Regions from separate parts of the Homo sapiens genome. Here region 1 is linked to region 2. Evidence: promoter capture Hi-C in 16 types of primary human blood cells and fetal thymus (Javierre and others, 2016). All regions are on one chromosome and are shown on one strand. Each heading gives the region's core, a stretch centred on a gene start or on the middle of the fragment in contact. The rest is flanking DNA. Distances are from core to core; before and after follow the strand shown. Region 1 overlaps CPED1 (cadherin like and PC-esterase domain containing 1). Region 2 holds the start of WASL (WASP like actin nucleation promoting factor).

Region 1 (3,100 bases), core at 393-2,892, 2.8 Mb before region 2:
AGCACTTTGGGAGGCTGAAGCAGGAGGATCACTTAAGTCCAGGAGTTCAAGACCAGCCTAGGCAAAATAGGGAGAGCCTATCTCCACAAAAAGTTAAAAAAAAATTAGCTGGGATTGATGGCATGTGCCTGGAGCCCCCCAGCTACTCGAGAGGCCAAGGTGGGAGGATTGCTTGAGCCAGGGATGTCAAGGCTGCAGTGACCTGTGATCATGCCTCTGCACTCCAGCCTAGGTGACAGAGCAAGCTCCTGTCTCAAAAAAAAAAGAAAAGGGAATTATCCTTAGAAATTTTTAATAGAGGTAAAAAAACCCCACATATTATAAAATTTAACCTCTTAACCATTTGTGAGTATACAGTTAAGTAGTATTAATCATATTTACATTGTTGTGCAAAGTCCAAAATATTCTTGCCTTGTTCACAGCCCTTATTCAGAAACATTAGTCTCAACCAGCTTGCATGTTGCTTCCTCTTCTCCTTGGCATCTGGCCCAGATCTGGATTTCCTCCTTGTGGTTTATATATTGCCTGTAGACATGGTGCTCCTTTTTTAGCTCTAACTTCTAATTTCTCTCTGGGACCATGCTGTGCATTTAGCCCTTTATTATACTATTATAATTTTAGTAAATATCACATGAGCACAGCCCTTATGGCTATGTAAAGTGGAATTTTCTCTAGTCCTCCAAATTAATTCAGATAAGAGTTCATCAGATTCCAAAATCTTAGCATCTATCTTCACAATCTCAATGCTGTGTCCTTGTTGTCACTAACCTAGACTCATTCAGTGGTTTAACCAGTTACCCCTCCATCTGCCTGCATATTCTAGGCAGTCTGTGCACAGGTCCCATTAATACCTCTGCTGAAAGCTTTCAGGAGTTGTAACGTTGAGCGCACTCAATTGAGTAGAAACCACACTGATCCTGGCATGTTCCAACATACTTTTCCAGCCTTATCTCTACCCTGTCTCTATGTGTAATCCATAATCCATAATCCACCCAACAGCCTGCCTATTTTCTAAACTCCCACATCTCTCCTTCTGTCAGGAGTCTCCTCCAGGGAGCCTGCTCTACTCAATACCTCTAGAAATCTTCATGATCATTCTTAAAGCTTTTGAGAACCTATGGAGTTTCACTTCCTTCATTATAGCAGCCCTTATCTCCATAAGTGGATGTGTGCTTAAACATCCCTAATAAAACTTATGTTTCATTGTAACTATTTATAAATGAAGGAACATTAGAATGTTAGAACTGCAAATAAGTTAGAGATGATTAAGTTCAACATCTTTCTTTTTTAAGTGAAGAGAAAGAAGGTCACAGAAAGAAAGTGGCTCTCTCAAAGTAACATAACAAGTTGATAGTGTGGACAGGACTGGACTGAGACCTATGTCCTTTCTATTTTATTATAGCCCCATATGCTAACTCCATTCATTGGTATTATGGGTTAAATTGTGTACCCCATCCCTGAAAAGATATGTTGAAGCCCTAAACTCCAGTACCTCAGAATGTGACCTTACTTGGAAATAGGGTTATCGCAGATATAATTAGTTAGGATGAGGTCACACTGGAGTAAGGTGGCCCCTAATCCAATATGACTGGTGTTATAGGAAGGCAGTAGATGGGGCGTGGTGGCTCACACCTGCAATCCCAGCACTTTGGAAGGCCAAGGTGGGTGGATCACCTGAGGTCAGGAGTTTGAGACCAGCCTGGCCAACATGGTGAAACCCTGTCTTTACTAAAAATACAAAAAACTAGCTGGGCATGGTGGCGGGCACCTGTAATTCCAGCTACTCAGTAGACTGAGACAAGAGAATCACTTGAACCCAGGAGGCAGAGGTTGCAGTGAGCTGAGATTGTGCCACTGCACTCCAGCCTGGGTAACAAGAGCAAAACTCGGTCTCGAAAAAAAATAAAATAAAATAAAATAAAATAAAATAAAATAAAATAAAATAAAATAAAAAATAAAAAGAAGAGGACAGCATAGGAAGACAGAGACACACAGGGAGAATGCCATGTAATGTTGAAGGCAGAGATTGGAGTCATGCAGCTGCACACTGAAGGACACCAAAGATTGCGGCAAACCCCCGGAAACTCGACAGTCAAGGAAGGATTCCACCACAAGTTTCAGAGGAACTGCTGACACTGTTATTTCAGGCTTCTAGCCTCCAGAATTACGAGATTTAGTAAGCAAGCTTCTCTTGTTTTAAACTATCCAGCTTCGAATACTTTGTTACAGCAGCTCTAGGAAACTAATAAATTTGGGAAGGCAGAATAGTTAAGTACATGAACACTGCATTCAAATTAATACCATTTATTAACTTGTTACCTTGGGCACATTTCTTGACCTCTCTAGGATTTAGTTTCCTTACCTGAATATGGATATATTATCACCAACTCCCCAGGCTAACATGATCCTTAAATGAGATAAATCACATGAAGCACTTAAAGTGTCTGGCAGATAGAAAGCACTCAATAAATATTAACTATGAAAATAATTATTATTTAATTTCCTTGAAGACTCCCTCCTCTCTGTGGACCCTATAGACCCTAACATTTGGCCTTCACAAAGTCAGTGAGCAATAAATAATTGCTGCAATCAACATAAGTCTTTGGATAAGAAATGTCTGAGATGAAAGCTTTGTTGAGTTTCTCTCTCTATCCCCCAGCCTCTAAGCTGTTGCCTTTTCACAGTAAAATGAATCTTTTGAAACAAAACCAAACTTAAGGAGGCTGATATATCACTCAACGTCAGACTTGCTTATTTATAGGCAAGTCTTCAGTTTTGTGGAATCCTTTTTTTTTTTTTTAAAGTCTGAGATGCTGAGATGAACAGCATGTTATAGCTGGGGATGGGGAGGAGTGAGTTCAGTGCAGATAGGAGGAAAGAGATTAAGATTTTGGACCCTGAGTAACATATCTATTCATTGGTTTATTGTCTTTCTACACAGAATATAAGCTCCTTCAGATCAAATGCTTTAGTTGATTGGCTTACTGCTACATCCCCAGTGTAAAAACAGCCTCTGATACATAGTGAGCATTGAATAAATATTCAGTCGATGAATGAATAAATAAATGAATGATGAATTTGAATTTGCCAACTCTAGAGC
Region 2 (2,993 bases), core at 433-2,932:
TTGAGCCACTCCTCTTGTTTCATCCTTCTAATCAGGAAACTCAATGTTCTCTAAGGTCTAAATTCCGAAATATGAAACACATCTGAAATTGAATGGAACGATTCAATCTCCAACCGGATGGCACAAGATACAAAGGGTGGACTCCTATGAAGTTAACAATGAATCCAATAACTTTCCAGAAATTGTCTAATCCTAACTTCTTAAAGAAGCAGGTGAAATCTGGTTTGGCATACCTAATATTACTTAAAGGAGTTATAAAATGGTATTGCTTTGTTGAAATTTCCGTGTTTTCTGGGTTCCAGTGGCACATACTCTGCAGGTGCTAGCAAAGTGGAGAGAAAGGGATCCAGCCAGTATTTCAACAAACCACACTTCAACCCAGTCACCGCAGTATGATCCCGACAAGGCCTACACCACAGAGCAGAACCTCCCCACCCCCAGAATTGCCAGCAGCCAATGTAATGAATGCTTCCGTCAACAACACACATTCCCCTTCCCACAGCAGAACTGCTCGCTCCCAACCGGCCATCTGGGGTTGGAATTGGCCGCACAGCACCAAACTAAGAATCATTCTCGGCCCCAAAAGCCAAGAGCTACCAGAGATTGAGGTTTCCCTGCGCATGGCTGCGGGGAGAGCAGCACCCCCTCCCACCAATGGGGGGAAAAAAAAAATCAGTGGGAAGGAGAGTAGAAACCAGGCCTAGGCAAGGTTGCTAGAGAAATAAATCTTGTTTCTCTTTAACGAAGAGCAATAACATTTCTTGCACCCTCTCTAATCCGAAGAGAGCCCAGGCTCTTGCACTCGACTTCATTCCCTCCTGGAATCCTAATGGGAGATTAAAAACCACCTTCCTTCCCCGACCTATCCACTCCTCAAACCTGGCATTGTTAAGGAACGTACCCCCAGATCAAGCAGTAAGAGGTGAAGCGAGAGCTAGAACAAGGGCCCAGATTCTAGGACCAAGCGGCTCTTGCAAGAAAATCCCCTTGTGGCCTGAGAATAAAGTTTTAACCAGCAGCAAGGGCGCGGGCCGAGGCCCGGCCAGGCTGGAGGACAGGCCTGCGGAGGTGACACTCCCTTATTCTCCAGCAGCTCGGGAAGGCGGCGCCCGACCGCCACGGCCCGCACCCTGGGAGCAGGGCGAGGGCGCCGACGAGGGGCCGGGGCCGGGGCCGGGGCTGGCGGGAGGCCTGGCCCGCGCCGCTCCCGCCTCCTTCCCCACTCCCACTTCCCGGCCCCCAAGCCCGGGCCCGTGAGGTAATGTCACGGGTGGCGACGCGGGTCTCGTCCACTGACCACACATTTCTTGCCGAGGAAAGTGAAGAGGGACTCGTTCTCCTGCGGGGTGAGCAACAGGGACCCCACGTTGGTGACCCTCCGCGGCGGCGGCGGCTGCTGCTGGACGGAGCTCATGGTTTCGCCGGCGGGGTTGGGAGTCCAGGGCCGTCTCCTCCGGCGAGTGGGCGAGAGCTCGTTCCCCCTCTCGGTGACAGGGGCGGGGAGAAGTGGAGTCAGAGGCGCCACATCTCGCAGCTCCTCCGGAGCGGGGAGGAGGACGAGGTCGAGGGAAGCAGGCGCTGACGGCGAGCCACCTTCGCGCCGCGCTGAGAAAGGGAAGCTCCCGGCACCCGCCCGGCCAGGCTAGGGCCGGATGGTCGTTGTCCTCGCACTCCGGCGACTGCGCTAAACTCCCAACTCCTCCCCCAACCCTCCCGCAGCGGCGGCGGCGGCCGCACAATCCAACATGGCAGCGGGGGCGGGCGAGACCACAGGACGGAGGGCGCGGGGGAGCGCGCCGGAAACGCGCGGCTGCGGCCCGGGAGAAACCCCCCCACTCGGCGGCGGGCCTCGCGGCGCGGGCCCGAAGCCACGCCCCCTTCCGGCCGAGGCGCGGACCGCGCGGAGCTAAGTGGAATCCCGGTTGGCTTGGGGCGCAGGCTTCCAACTTCGTACTCTGGCCTCTGGCGTCTCGGCTCGTCGGTTGGGTACCCGAACCCAGCTACTGCTGCTTGAAGAGAAGATGGATGGGGACTCCTCGCCGTCGCTGCGCCGCCGGCCTTCCCTGGGCGGACGTACACCTTTGCGAAGCGTCAGTGAGGACCCAGGGCCCCTCCTTGGAATAGCTCTTATTTCTCAAGCGCTGCAGCGTGAAGCTCGCTCTGCGGGTCCGAGAGGCCTGCGATCTGAAGACTGAAAACTGGGAAGAGACGCTCTACCCTGTGCTCCTCGCCGGCTTCGATAGGAGCCGCAGGTGCCTGGGATTTTCTCAAACTTTGTCCCAAACTTCAGCTGTGGGAGTGGAGGAACAAACAGGCCTCTCCCAGAATTGTGAAAGAGATCGCCCTGGTGGATGAAACAAAAACAAATGCACTTGACTTCCACCGCCTGCCTGGCGTGTCACGCGGGTTTAATGTATGTGTCACATTTAAATTCAAAGTATTTTCTTCTAAGGGCCTGGACACATTTCTTTTCTCCCTGTATCGTGAATTGGAAAATACCTTAGGATATTAAAAGTTATCTAAGATAACCCCCTTTCTTCTGTAAGTTAAATACTAAACGGCTTAAGACGAAATTTTGGAATATAGAGATGATGATGCAGACTGCAGTGAATTATCAAATATGCATCTCACTGTTCTCCACATTAAACATATTTTTGTTGCGTAAATTCATGTTAAGACGTCTATAACAATTACACTTTGGTAAAATTGTTGGATGTTAACATCTCTGATAGCTCCCAATAGAAATCTCTGATGTACTAACCAGACTGGTAAACCATTATCATGCACTTTGAAAATATAATAAAATATTATAATTAAAGCTGCCATTAATGAAATAGGCTGAGCAACAATAAATTTACAAAGGAAAATAAAAGTGGATAGCCTTGGGAGTTCTCACATAAAATATGGAGATTTCAAAGTTAAACTTGATTAATTATGTTAGGGTAAAAAGTGAATTAAAGCAACAGGACTATTTATAAAATAATTAGATTTAG

Evidence for each region. Contacts are between HindIII fragments. The CHiCAGO score rates a contact against its expected background, and 5 or more counts as called.
Region 1: a contact is called between a fragment that was not itself captured here and the fragment with the promoter of WASL in region 2, in 1 of 17 cell types (M0 macrophages). The highest score is 9.9, in M0 macrophages.

The regions. Positions count from the first base shown.
Region 1 is chr7:120,996,029-120,999,128 of GRCh38, forward strand. The region is part of intron 2 of CPED1 (cadherin like and PC-esterase domain containing 1); the gene reads left to right. Among named protein-coding and RNA genes, the nearest start is that of CPED1, 8.9 kb to the left of the region's middle. The HindIII fragment of the contact is 1,081 bases long and covers 1,103-2,183 here.
Region 2 is chr7:123,747,321-123,750,313 of GRCh38, forward strand. WASL (WASP like actin nucleation promoting factor) reads right to left here and starts at 1,683. Exons shown (of 11, transcript NM_003941.4): 1 at 1,298-1,683. The coding sequence starts at 1,414. It overlaps WASL-DT (WASL divergent transcript), which reads left to right and starts at 1,875. Exons shown (of 1, transcript NR_170281.1): 1 at 1,875-2,993. RefSeq lists enhancers at 604-653, 1,413-2,067 and silencers at 1,096-1,185, 1,646-1,965. The HindIII fragment of the contact is 6,394 bases long and covers 1-2,993 here.